Regions from separate parts of the Homo sapiens genome. Here regions 1, 3, 4 and 5 are each linked to region 2. Evidence: promoter capture Hi-C in 16 types of primary human blood cells and fetal thymus (Javierre and others, 2016). All regions are on one chromosome and are shown on one strand. Each heading gives the region's core, a stretch centred on a gene start or on the middle of the fragment in contact. The rest is flanking DNA. Distances are from core to core; before and after follow the strand shown. Region 1 overlaps CLASP2 (cytoplasmic linker associated protein 2). Region 2 holds the start of CLASP2 (cytoplasmic linker associated protein 2). Region 3 overlaps CLASP2 (cytoplasmic linker associated protein 2). Region 4 overlaps CLASP2 (cytoplasmic linker associated protein 2). Region 5 overlaps CLASP2 (cytoplasmic linker associated protein 2).

Region 1 (2,700 bases), core at 117-2,616, 130 kb after region 2:
AAACATTCAAATGAGCTATTTTAAAATACACTTGAATAATTTCCTTACAATAATTTAGAATTCCTTCTATACAGACAGTAAATTGTTAATTTCATTGGAAACACTGCTTTGTTTTACAATATTGTTATCACTAATAGGAAATAAGTTTCATTTTGTATGCTGGTAAAGTTTAAGAATTAAGCATTAATATAAATTGTATTCAGCAAGACCATTCCAAGAAAACTGTAGTAAGAATCACAGATCGGCCGGGTGCGGTGGCTCACGCCTGTAATCCCAGCACTTTGGGAGGCCGAGGCAGGCGGATCATGAAGTCAGGAGATCGAGACCATCTGGCTAACACGATGAAACCCTGTCTCTACTAAAAATACAAAAAATTAGCTGGGCGTGGTGGCGGGTGCCTGTAGTCCCAGCTACACAGGAGGCTGAGGCAGGAGAATGGCGTGAACCTGGGTGGCAGAGCGTGCAGTGAGCCAAGATCACACCACTGCACTCCAGCCTGGGCGACAGAGCAAGACTCCGACTCAAAAAAAAAAGAAAGAAAAAAAAGAATCACAGATCGCCAGCCCATGGACCATGTCTAGTCTGTCTCCATTTATGTATTATTTGGCCTATAGAACATGCTAAAAATCTGGAAATATCAAAGCTTTCATTTTTGAAAAATCCCAAGACCTATCCACTATTACCTCAAGACAAAGGTGGCTAGAACTAAAAAGTCACCTCTCACTTTAGGAAAGGGCAGGCACCCCCCCTCTTGATCAGTCATCTTACTACTCCCTGCTTTACACAGTGCCCCTCTCTTTTTTGACATCCTGTGCTTGTCCCATTGGCATTTGAGTCTCTGTGGAAATGAAGCCTGATTGGGTAAGACTGTATAACATATAATCATACAGCCCTCTTACTGGGTAGAAGTAGTGCCCACGAAGGGAAAAGGTTGCTTTCATGAAGATTTATTTAATTGCAACTTTAGTTTTTCTGTTACTTTTCTGAATCTACATTTAGATTATATCTTGGAGTTCTTATCTAGTACTTTTTCTATTCAACGTAGACATAAAGTGCTTTGATTGACAGGGAGCTTATCTCCTTAAAATTTAACCCTTGCATTTCTAGTTTAAAAACATGTTTTTAAAACTTTTTTTAAACCCATGCACAGTCTCTGAAAAGATTTTACTAACTCTACCTGTGTTCCTGACCACATGTCCACCTTCCAAAACTGAAAATTACTCATTTGAAAAGAGGCCAGGCGTGGTGGCTCAGGCCTGTAATCCCAGCACTTTGGTAGGCCGAGGCAGGCAGATCACAAGGTCAGGAGTTCGAGACCAGCCTAGCCGACATGGTGAAATCCTGTCTCTACTAAAAATACAAAAATTAACCAGGTGCGATGGCAGGAGCCTATAATCCCACCTACTCAGGAATCTGAGGCAGGAGAATCACTTGAACCCGGGAGGCGGAAGTTGCAGTGAGCCGAGATCGCGCCACTGCACTCCAGCCTGGGTGACAGAGCAAGACTCTGTCTCGGGGGGGAAAAAAGAAAAGAAAGAAAAGGATCTGATTCATTTGATGTTTTCCCCTTACTCCCCTTCTACCCTTGGGACTTCTATAACCCAGAATGTCACTACCCAAGAGCGCTTTGCTATTTGAAGACAAATAGCAAAAAACAAGTTTCTTTTTCAGCTGGCCCAATTTTGTCAGCATTTAAAATTTAATTTTGTTAAGTTTAAAAATACGTCTAATAGTAAGACAGATAGCTTTGCTGTACCATTCAGAGAAATCTCAGCAGGCAAACTATTTTAAAATGAAACAGATTATCATTATTATATACTTAACAAAAAATAGTGATAGAATTACCGGGTTTTTTTTTAATACAGTCATGCTCTGCATAACCACATTTAATCAGTGACCACATATGTGACAGTAGTCCCGTAAAATTATAATACTGGGAAGGAGATGAGGAACAAAAGACTGCGTATTGGGTACAGTGTACATTGTTCGGGTGACAGGTGCACCAGAATCTCAGAAATCACCACTAGAGAAGTTATTCATGTCACCAAACACCACCTCTACCCCAAAAACCATTGGAAATAAAGCTTTAAAAAATTATAATACTATATTTTTACTGTACCTTTTCTGTGTTTAGGTATTTTTAGATACACAAATATTTACCATTGTGTTACAGTTGCCTACAGTATTGTTAATGGCATACTGTATAGGATTTGTAGCCTAGGAGCAATAAGCTATATACCATATAGATCTGTAGTAGGCTATACCATCTAGGTTTGTGTAAGTACACTCTATGATGTTCACACAATGATAAAATCACCCAACAACACGTTTCTCAGAATGTATCCCATTGTTAAGTGACATATGACTGTATATAGCTTATTCACGTAGAACATGATAGCCATATGAAATGGATTGTCAGATAAGTGATTTCTTTGGAAATCTTGTATACCATTTGTGTTCTAAAAATTATAATAATGTTCTCCTTATTAAACATAGTGTCTTATACCTCCAAAACTGAAAGTATATTTTAGATGATTTACCATTTAGTGCTCATATATGTAGTATACCTTTTTTTTTCCAGGTTATAATTATATTTAAATCTTCCTCGGTCTATTTCCTTTGAGCGTAGAACCTGCCATACTGTCACAGTTTTCTCTGTATTATCAATATTTCTTGAATTTTTATCCTTTCAGCAAATTC
Region 2 (2,700 bases), core at 98-2,597:
TACAATGTGAAACACAGAAATACTGAAAAAAGAACACAGAAAACAGTCAATTTCTTTGAATTTTGAGTTTGTTTATTCTTAGTTATTGTGAATATTTCAAATATCAATTTTTGTTGAATTCATTCACTCATTTAACTTAAATTGGCCACCCATTATTTGCTAGGCACCACCCTAGGAAAACACAAAGGTTCCTGGAGCTTTCTGTGTATTAGAAGAGAAAGATATTACATAAATAATCATTTTGTTGTGATTGGGAATAATTGTCAAGAAGATAAACACAGTGTGCTTTTGGAATGTATTAGACAACTTTACCCCCACCAGAATGGCTAAAACTAATAACCCTGACCATATCAAATATTGTGGAGCAACTGGAACTCTCAAGCATTGCTGGTGGGGATTTAATATGATCCAGTCACTTTGGTAAACAATTTGGCAGGTTCTTCTAAAGTTAAACATACAACTTACAAGACCTAGTAATGCCAGTCCTTGGTATTTATTTACCCATGAGAGAAGAAAATATATCCACACAAAAACTTGTGCACTAACCGTTGTAGCAGCTTTATTCATAATTATAAAAAATAGGAAACAACCCAAATATCTACCAACAAGTGAATGGATCGACAAATGGTAGTGATTCCACAGAATGGAAAGCAATAAAAAGGAATGGACTTCTGAGACACCAACAGCGCTGGATGGACCCCAAACGTTATGCTAAAAGAAACCAGACTCCAAAGAAGCACAGACTGTATGAAGTTCAGGAACAGGGAAAACTATGTTACCATGCTAGAAATCAAATTAGAATTGCCTAGGGAAGAGCAGATAATTGGGAAGTGTCCTGGGACTTCCTGGGGTGTTGGAAACGTGCTGTACCCTCACTGGGGTGGCGGTTCCACGGGTGAATACATTTGCCGAAACTCATGAAGTGTACGCTGAAAATCTGTGCGTTTTACTTTAGGCAAACCTAAGTTTTGTTTTGTTTTGTTTTTTTAAGTATTACACAGTGACTGTGGTGGTGGCTGGAAGCAGAAGTCAGGAGTGTATTCTTTTTTTTTTTTTTTTTTAAACCGGCAGTGGGGGCGGGAAAGGGGGATGCCAAGTACTTTCCTAAGTGTTGAATACAAGTGGAGGCAAACTTGGAAACGTTCCACATTTCACAGGGCGAGGGCAGGGTGCCCTGACAGCGGCTAGCAAAGAACGGCCCGCCTCCCAGGGGGCTCGGCCCAACTCGGACCCCAAGTCTCCCTAGAGGTCCTATCGCTCCCAGCGGTTTCCGCAGCCACCTCCACCACCTCCGCAGCAAAACGCTAGCCGGACTGGAGGGCCCTCGCCGGCGTCGTGCTGACGTCACGCGCGTGCTGACGTCGCCCGCGGCCGCGGCCTCTGAAGCGGGCTGGGGATCGGGGGGCGCCGAGTTTGACTAGTTTGGGGGCGGCTGGGCGCTTGGCGTTCCTCCCGCCGCCCGCTGCGCCCCGCAAGCCGCGCCCCTGGCGGGCTAAGTGAGTCCCGCCCGCTCCCGCGGGGACCCGCACTGGAGGCTGGGCGGCTCTCGGCGAAAGTTGGCCGCTCACAGACTGGCAGGCGGGCGGGCGGCCGCAGCCATGGAGCCCCGCAGCATGGAGTACTTCTGCGCCCAGGTGCAGCAGAAGGACGTCGGCGGCCGGCTGCAGGTCGGCCAGGAGCTCCTGCTCTACCTTGGCGCCCCCGGCGCCATCTCGGACCTGGAGGAGGACCTGGGCCGCCTAGGCAAGACAGTCGACGCGCTCACCGGCTGGGTGGGTTCGAGCAACTACCGGGTAAGCGACGGCGGCGAGGCTGGGCTGGTCACGCCCTCCGCGGCAGCCCTTTAATCCCGGACGCGAGCGCCGGGCCGGGAAAGCTCCCGTCCGAACCACTGCTTAAGAGGGGAAACACACTTTGGGAAGCACAGGCGGGCGGATCACGAGGTCAGGAGTTCGAGACCAGCCTGACCAACATGGTGCAACCCCGTCTCTACTAAAAATACAAAAATTAGCCGGGCGTGGTGGCGGGCGCCTGTAATCCCAGCTACCCAGGAGGCTGAGGCAGGAGAATCGCTTGAATCTAGCAGGCAGAGGTTGCAGTGAGCCGAGATCGAGCCACTGCACTCCAGCCTGGGCGACAGAGTGAGACTCTGTCTCAAAAAAAGTAAAAAATAAATAAAAATAGGGGAAACAGGGGGGTCCCGCGTCCCCACTGGGCAGACCGCCTCTTCGTACGCGAGCCGAGGACTGACTTGTGACCACATTTTTCTACACTTGTGGACAATGACAAATTCAGCGATTCCGTGACACGTTGCGGAGTTACTAGGACACAATGTTGATCACTTATTTTGAAAAAAAAATCAGTGAAAGACTTCGACATTTGTGTTCACCTGTGTAAACACTACCCAGACCAACAGATAGGACATTAGGATACGATTTTAGGTTGATGTGTCTTAGTAGATAGGCTAATGCTGGGGGGGAAAAAGTTACAAAGATGAGGTGCGAGAAAGAATGAGCCTTTCTGAAGAGTTGGTGGTAGGCAGGGTGTAATGTAGCCGCGTTGGGAGGCCAGGTAAATATTTTGTATTTAACTTGCCCCGTAGTCGTTAGTAGTTACTTTTCTTTCTTGTCTTCTGGTGGCAGTGTTGCTTTAAAATGCTGACTGCAGCTTCCCATGGATGAAGTGATTCTTCTTAGTAAC
Region 3 (2,700 bases), core at 155-2,654, 180 kb after region 2:
CCTATCTTAGTTAATGGCAACCCTAGTTGCCTAGCCAAAATCCATGGACAAGAGTTGTTGAGACCTCTGTTTTTCTCATCCTCCATACCAAATCTGTCAGGAAATCTTTTGTCTCCACTGCAGAATGTATCCAGAATTCAGCCTATTCTCACCACTGCCTTTCTGGTTTGAGCCATCATCTTCATCATTTCTCTCACCTGGATTATTAAAATTTGGCCTCCTTGATTATGCCCTTGACCTCCTATAGTCCACTCTCACTCTCACTCAACTCTATAGGAGGTCTCTGTCTCAGAGTAAAAACCAAAGTCTATACAATAGGCTTTTTTTCTGTTACCTCTCTGGCCTCATCTCCTGCTAGTTTCCTCCTTGTTCACTCTGCTCCTGCCACACTGGCCTCCTTGCTATTCCTTGAACTTACTATGCACGTTCCTGCTTCAGGATCTGTGTATTGGCTGTTTTCTCTACCTGAAACACTCTACCTCCAGATAGCCCCTTGGCTGATTCCCTTACTTCCTTCAAGTGTTTATTCAAGTGGCTTCTCAGTGAACCCTACTCATCCTATTTAATCTGTGAACTCCATCCTCCCACCTCAGCATTCATGATTCCTTCTTCTAACATGTCGTATACTTTATTCGTTCATTAAGTTTTTTTTTTTTTTGGTCTGTCCCTCCACTAAAATATAAACTCCACTGGGGTAGGCATCGTTCTCTCTTTTGCTCACTGATGTATTCCCAATGCTGTGAACAATGCCAGGCATATAATATGTGCATAGTAAATATTTTAAGAATATTTGTAAAGTGCCTAGCAAATGGCTTGGCACATAGTTGCCCAGTGGATGGTGGTGATGCTGATACCCATGGTAGTAATTATTTTGATACCAGTATTTGTATCAATATTCATATTCATATTTTGATAAGTATGTACCCAAATTCTTTTGGCATCCTTCCAAAAGTTATGCAGGCCTTTTAAGCCTTTCTTTTTTTTTTTTTTCTCCTTAAAGCAAGCCTTTTTAAATTTGATTTTATTATGCTTTTTTGACATACTGTTGTATGATATACCATTACCTTAATAATGGAATCTGGCAGCTTGTAGTACTGTATTGCTTATGAAAGTTCTTTTGTATCTTTAACTGACATGGAGAAGTTGCTGGTAATCACACTGTACATATTGTCTGGTCAAGTTGTTTGCAAGGGAACTGTAATAATCATTAGAGGCAGCATTCTTTTACAGTTCTTATTTGCCTTCACAGCTGTAGTTTATATTTTTAAGCTTTGACGTCTGGAATATAAATTGTAACTCATAATGTTGATTGCCATTACTTAAATTTTTTAGCTGGTTATTGTTATCTTTTTAAAATTGTCTTTTAAGCAGTAGAGAAATATCTTTTTAGAATGTTAAATAGATACTTGAAAAATGAGTTAATTTGCTGTGGCTTTCACTTCCCATTGATAGATGTGTGGTGGTCCTGGGATGTCTGACCCAAGAGCAGGAGGTGATGCTACTGACTCAAGTCAAACAGCTCTTGATAATAAAGCTTCATTGCTCCATTCAATGCCTACTCACTCCTCTCCACGCTCTCGAGACTATAATCCATATAACTATTCAGATAGCATCAGTCCCTTCAACAAGTCTGCCCTCAAGGAAGCCATGTTTGATGATGATGCTGACCAGTTTCCTGACGGTATGTTCTGGGTCACACTGCTACTGTCTGTTTTGGAGAACTTGGTAATTGATGAAGTAAAAGAAATGCATATGCTTTTTTATTATAACTCCCAAAAAGTAACAATTTTTAGAATAAGAATGTTTTCTCCCATCTTCTAGGAACTCATCTCTAGTGCTTTGGTCATTTTCTTCTCCTGAATGAGAAACAGGGTAGTCATCTTGAGATCATGATCAAAATCAAGAAAACCTTAGTTACCACCCAGAAATAACTAAAACCAATTGTAGCTTATAAATTTACTTTACCTCTAGACACAATTTATTTGGTCATTAATTTTTATACCACGATGACAAAACCTTTGAAGAAATACCCATTCTTTATAGTAGCCCTTTAAGCATGAAGTCATAAACTTTTTTATTAATAAAATACATTTCAAGGACGAAATATAAGGAAAGTTACCATTAGGATTTGAATTTGGGTGAAATGGGCTTAGTTCTAAGCTCTAACACTTACTAAGCTGCATAGCCTGGCAAGATGGTTAACTTTCCCGAGTCTCAGTTATCACCTCCAAAAGAGGATGATGATGATTATACTACCTAATCCCAGTGTGCAGTAAGATGCAGGTAAGTTGTATAAAAACTGATGATATAGTACAAAACACTACAAATGTTTTAGTGTTTTGTTTAAGAGACTGGGTGTCACTCTGTTGCCCAGTCTGGAATGTAGTCGCTCAAACATAGCTCACTGCAGCCTTGTCCTCGTAGGCTCAAGCGATCCTCCCACCTCAGCCTCCTGAGTAGCTGGGACTACGGACCACCATACTCAGCTAATTTTACCTTTTTAAATAAATGTTCTATAGAGATGGGGCCTCCCTATGTTCCCTAGGCTGGTCTTGAACTCCTGGCCATAAGTGATCCTCCCACCTCAACCTCTCAAAGTGCTGGGATTGTAGGTGTGAGCCACTGTGCCTGTCCTAGTTATTTTTTATAATAAGGAAACATATTTTTTCTTAATTACTTAATTCATTAATACTTTTCTTA
Region 4 (2,700 bases), core at 170-2,669, 160 kb after region 2:
ACAGTCAAGCCAGCACTTCGGGACCAGCTTCACTCTTTTTGGAGCTCCAAGGTTTTATTGTTTTTGTTTTCATCTGCATTATTTCTTTTCTTAACTCTCTGCAGTGTTTGCATCTGTATTCAACTACTAACCTTTGTAAGCCTTTTACGCATGCACACATTTGATTTCAAATGTTATTTAAATGCAATGCCAGACTCTAAGTCTTTTGGAGAAACTTAATGGTGATACACGTTTGGAAGGCATCACATTATTGCCATCTAACCCTAAGCTGGTAATGCAAACTCACTCTATAAAGTCTTATCTAATTTTATGTTTGTGATTTCCCATTACTTTTTTTTTTTTTAAGTGTCAGGCATTTTAACGGGTATTTTAGGCAAAATGTCAGTTTTGCCTATGTATTAACTAAGCAAAATTTTTTAAATTTAATCTCAGTCCCTTTCTTCAATTATCCTTAACTGAAATAGTAACTTTCTTTTTTTTTCTGATGTATGCATAACATTTGGAGTTATAATTAACTTTCTCGTTTGTTATATACACACATTTTTCAGTTAATATGAAAACTAAATGGATTCCAATTTGTGATTTAAAGTGATTATTAAATTTTACATAAAAGAAAAAATGTAAAAGAATAGCTCCTGAATTCTTTGCTAAAGGTTTTTTTTTTTTAGTGAGTTTTATTAAATGAGATTAAAGTCAGGGAAATAACAAGCATATGTGCTTATACGAGTCCTATATTTTTCTGCTCTATCCTGCACGAAATATATTTCTACAAGCGTTACTGCCCAGGATTGATTTTTCCCTTAAGTTTCTGAATGCAATTGTGCCTCAGAATCACAATTATGTTTCTTATCAGGGCTGACTTTGTAAACCGAAAAGTGTCTGAGACAAGTCTCAATCAATTTAGAGGTTTAGTTTGCCAAGATTGAGGATGCATCCAGGAGAAAGAGACACAAGAAGAAAGCCTGTTCATTCTTCCAGAGAGGGTTTTGAGGACTTTAATATTTAAAAGAGAAAGAGCCAGCTTGAGGGGAAAGAGGAACAGTCAGGCATTCATCTCGTGCTCAGTAAATCTGCATCTTACCTAAGAGAAAGTAAACACAGAGTAGAGGAAGAAGTAAATGTATTTGTCTCTGGGTGAGTGGGGGATGATTTCTAGTCTCATCGTTGTCCTCTACCTGTGAAGATAAACTGTTAATTTACATTGTCAGCATGAGGGAGACCACCTGAAGAACTATGTAGCCTTCTATCTTGCAGCTGTCTGTTTATGAACAAATGGGAGTCAGTTTTCTGAATGACTGAGTTCCCAAGCTTAACTTTCCTTTTGGCATAGGCCGTTTTATTTTCCTTTCACAACTTACACTCAATATAATGTTGTTTTCTTAGAGCTGCTTGGGGAAAGAGATTTCATCTGTTTGATTTTGAAAAGTGACCTGCAGAAGAATAATTTACTTGATATTATTAATAGATATTTTTTAACTCATTTTATGACCAAGGCAGTGTGCTAGGTGTTCCTGGGAATATAAAGCTTGTAATTTTATCATTATTAACTATAATATATAATAAACTCTAAACAGTAATAAAAGTTATGATATAGGTACCTGTAGTGGTGTTCAAGTGCTACTGAAATGTATGTGGAGTTAACTAGGTGTGGTAGTTCATGCCTATAGTCCTAGCTACTCAGGAGGTGAGGCAAGAGGATCGCATGAACCCAGGAGTGAGGTTACAGTGAGCTCTAATCACACCACTGCACTCCAGCCTGGGAGCCTCTTTTTTTAAGAGACAGAGTGAGACCCTGTCCATTGAAAGAGAAAGGAAAGAAAGAAAAAAGTAGATAATATATATAGAGATGTTTCATGAACCAGTGCAAATGAAGGTCTAAACCAGCTTAAGAAGTAAGGGTGAGGCTGGGCACCGTGGCTCACACCTGTAATCCCAGCACTTTGGGAGGCTGAGGCAGGCGGATCACTTGAGGTCAGGAGTTTGAGACCAGCCTGGCCAACATGGAGAAACCCTGTCTCTACTGAAAATACAAAAATTAGCCAGGGGTGATGTTGGGCACCTGTAGTCCCAGCTACTCGGGAGGCTGAGGCAGGAGAATCACTTGAACCGGAGAGGCGGAGGTTGCAGTGAGCCAAAATCATGCCACTGCACTCCAGCTTGGGAGACAGAGTGAGACTTGGTCTCAAAAAAATAAATAAATAAAAATAAGGGGTTGATAGTTGAGTTCAGAGAGAATAAGTTGCAGGAGACTTGAAGAGAAAGACAAAGCGAAGATTGAAATGAGATATGCACAAATTAAAATTAACTTTCCTATTAGAAAACATTATGCTGGAAACTGGAATCACAGATTGTTTCTCTAAAAGCCTAAATTATTTATAAATATGTATTTAATATAGATAATAGATGTATTAGCAAATCCATGAGGGAAAATCACTTTTTGGCTGGGCACGGTGGCTCACGCCTGTGATCCCAGCACTTTGGGAGGCCAAGGTAGGTGGATCATCTGAGGTCAGTAGTTTGTGACCAGGCTGGCCAGCATGGTGAAACCATGTCTCTACTAAAAATACAAAAAGTTAGCCAGGCGTGGTGGCAGGCATCTGTAATCCCAACTACTCGGGAGGCTGAGGCAGGAGAATCGCTTGAACCCAGGAGGCAGAGGATGCAGTGAGCCGAGTCTGCGCCACTGCCCTCTAGCCTGGA
Region 5 (2,700 bases), core at 155-2,654, 220 kb after region 2:
CATTGAATGCCATACTCTTTGCAGTGTTATTTGTAATAGGAAAAATTTAGCAGGAAGGAGGTTATTGGGGAGGAAGATGTAAACTTACAATACTCTAGAATGGTTAAATTAGGAAGCATACTAAATGAATGCCTCATATCATTATTATAAAGACCATATAGAAAAATTAATTTACATTATAATTGCAATTATATTAAAATGATGGAAAATAAAATTAACAGTTTGATTGCATGACTTAGGAATAATGTACTTCTTTTAGCTAGATATCTATTGATATTTTAATGTTTCTGCAGTTGTTTTAGAAAGATAAAATGATTAGGATTTTAGTGGAGATGAGCTCTATTTTTTCCCTGGAGTAAAATGTGCATATTCATTCAGATAATTCATTCAAAAATATTTCATGGATAAGATTGCTGTAGAGTATTGAAATAGAGTAAGTAGTGTGATCAAAAGCGTAAGTGGGAGAGATGGACAGAGAAAGGGAAGATGTTGGTCAAAAGGTACAAAGTTTCAGTTAAAGAGTATTAGGTTCTAGCTACGTATTACACAGCACAGTAACTAGTTAATAATGTATATTTCAAAGTAGCAATTATAAAAGAAAATGCATTTTAAATGTTACCACAAAGAAATGATAAGTATCTGAGGTGATGGATATGTTGATTAGCCTGATTTGGTCATTCCACAGTGTACATGTATTGAAACATCACATTATACCCCATAAATATATACAATTATTATTTGTCAATTAGAAACAAGTTAATTTTTTAAATAAAATTAGGTTATTAAAGGCACAGTAAAAGCATAGGGGAATAGTTTACATAGACTAGATTTATTAGAGAAAGTAATTGCAGGGATGGAACAGATGTAAAACTTAATCGGGCCTGGATTATGTGACTACCTTGAGCTACCAAACCAATGAATTTAGGTTTTATCGGATAGTGAGGAGTGCTGACTGCCTTAAAACCTAATGCTTTAGGAAAGTTAGTCTGGAGACTTTTTTCAGGGTGAATTGGCAAGTGAGCAGCCTCAGAGTCAGAGAAGTGCAGCTTTCCAGACTAAGTAAGAACCTGATATAGAGGGCTAACAGTGAGGGCGCAGTAGGGGAAGTGAAGGGAGAGAAGGGCATTGTCTATGCTTGAAAAGGTTAAAAAGTTAACTTTGATCTGCACTTTTCTCTCCTTAGTATGCTCGAGATTTCATCTTTCAGCTGCATCTTCTGACCCTGTTAAAAAGGGAGTACTAACAGTGGACTTCTCTGGAGTACTAACAGTGGACTTCTCTCCGTAGGGTTATGATAATTCAGAGAGCAGTGTTCGGAAAGCTTGTGTCTTCTGCCTGGTGGCTGTTCATGCGGTAATTGGTGATGAACTAAAACCACATCTCAGTCAACTTACTGGCAGTAAAGTAAGTAGTGCTGCTGTGTTTTAGAGATGGTGGCCATAGTACATCTTTCAAAACTTAGTTACATGTCTGTAACAGTAAGCTTTTTATTTGGCATTTAATAAGTCAGGCTTTGAGCATCCAACTTGCCCTTATTATTTCTGTTTTGTATTTTATCTTTTTCTACTCTAACATTTGTTAGATGTTCACTCAGGTGAAGTCAGCAGTTTGTTGGGGTGATGGGTAGGTTTCTGTGAGAGAAAATGCCTGCAGCTTCTGGTTATTTATAATAGTTAGCTGACTCCTTACCAAATCCCAGACCCAAATCTTTACCCCTGACCACTGTTTTATTAAGAATAAATAGACTGTTGTGGTTATATATATTAATGGATTACTGTATATCTCTCCAAATATAGAATACTTGCACATTTAAAAATTTTTCCCCTTAAGAACTATGATAATCAAATATTTGTTCTTCTCTTTCTATTATCCAAATTAATGTGCAACTTTAACTTGGTGTGTTAAAATAAAAGTTTTCTAATTCATTGTTCAGACTTAAAAAAATAAGTAAGTCTTGCCTTTCTCATTTGATTGCTACTACCAGTACTTTAAAATTCATTCTGCTAAGGTGGCCAGGCAAAGTGGTTCATACCCGTAATCCCATCACTTTGGGAGGCCGAGGTGGGAGGATCACTTGAGACCAGGAATTTGAGACCAGCCTGGGCAACATACTGAGAAGACCGTGTCTCTAATAATAAAAATGATAATAATTGTTTTGAATTAGAAGTTTGTTCTCAAGGGTGAAGATAACTTCTGATTGTTGAATCATGGCTTATGAACCATTTAGCAGAAAGCACTCACCGTCACTTAAAGAATTTCTGAAACCCTAAGGATTGTCTTACTGTGGTCAAATTTATCTTTTAATAGCAAAAAAGCAGAATATACATATAATGGAAAATGAGCCTAGGTAACACACTTTACATTAAGTTATAGATAGATTTAACAATAATTCTTAACTCGGGTTATAAACCACCTCGAGACTTAGGTAAAATCTCATCTTAAGAAAAATGCATTCAGATAAAACCATGAGAGACAAAGTTTTAAAAAAAATAGAAAAATGCACAATGGAAACAATTACATGTCGTTTCAGAGGGTTCTGTGATCCCGTGAATCCCATGGCTAGCAGGTTAAAAACTCTTGGATCAAAGAGTTAATGTTTAAAAAGCAAACCTTCCAAAACAATTAAAATTCAGCACTTTATCAGAACAGTAGGTAGCCAGTAATAATGTTACATGTGAAGACAGTAGGTAGGTGGAAAAA

Evidence for each region. Contacts are between HindIII fragments. The CHiCAGO score rates a contact against its expected background, and 5 or more counts as called.
Region 1: a contact is called between a fragment that was not itself captured here and the fragment with the promoter of CLASP2 in region 2, in 2 of 17 cell types (M1 macrophages and naive CD4 T cells). The highest score is 5.2, in M1 macrophages.
Region 3: a fragment that was not itself captured here is called in contact with the fragment with the promoter of CLASP2 in region 2 in 1 of 17 cell types (M1 macrophages); the score reaches 7.1 in M1 macrophages.
Region 4: a fragment that was not itself captured here is called in contact with the fragment with the promoter of CLASP2 in region 2 in 1 of 17 cell types (M1 macrophages); the score reaches 5.8 in M1 macrophages.
Region 5: a contact is called between a fragment that was not itself captured here and the fragment with the promoter of CLASP2 in region 2, in 3 of 17 cell types (M1 macrophages, non-activated CD4 T cells and M2 macrophages). The highest score is 6.5, in M1 macrophages.

The regions. Positions count from the first base shown.
Region 1 is chr3:33,584,967-33,587,666 of GRCh38, reverse strand. All of the region lies in intron 21 of CLASP2 (cytoplasmic linker associated protein 2), which reads left to right. Among named protein-coding and RNA genes, the nearest start is that of CLASP2, 130 kb to the left of the region's middle. The HindIII fragment of the contact is 1,441 bases long and covers 646-2,086 here.
Region 2 is chr3:33,716,901-33,719,600 of GRCh38, reverse strand. It overlaps CLASP2 (cytoplasmic linker associated protein 2), which reads left to right and starts at 1,347. Exons shown (of 39, transcript NM_001365631.1): 1 at 1,347-1,793. The coding sequence starts at 1,599. RefSeq lists an enhancer at 986-1,075 and a silencer at 1,276-1,615. The HindIII fragment of the contact is 12,344 bases long and covers 1-2,700 here.
Region 3 is chr3:33,534,214-33,536,913 of GRCh38, reverse strand. It overlaps CLASP2 (cytoplasmic linker associated protein 2), which reads left to right. Exons shown (of 39, transcript NM_001365631.1): 34 at 1,453-1,681. Among named protein-coding and RNA genes, the nearest start is that of UBP1, 95 kb to the right of the region's middle. The HindIII fragment of the contact is 265 bases long and covers 1,272-1,536 here.
Region 4 is chr3:33,556,476-33,559,175 of GRCh38, reverse strand. The region is part of intron 29 of CLASP2 (cytoplasmic linker associated protein 2); the gene reads left to right. Among named protein-coding and RNA genes, the nearest start is that of UBP1, 120 kb to the right of the region's middle. The HindIII fragment of the contact is 217 bases long and covers 1,311-1,527 here.
Region 5 is chr3:33,500,356-33,503,055 of GRCh38, reverse strand. CLASP2 (cytoplasmic linker associated protein 2) reads left to right here. Exons shown (of 39, transcript NM_001365631.1): 38 at 1,288-1,404. Among named protein-coding and RNA genes, the nearest start is that of UBP1, 61 kb to the right of the region's middle. The HindIII fragment of the contact is 162 bases long and covers 1,324-1,485 here.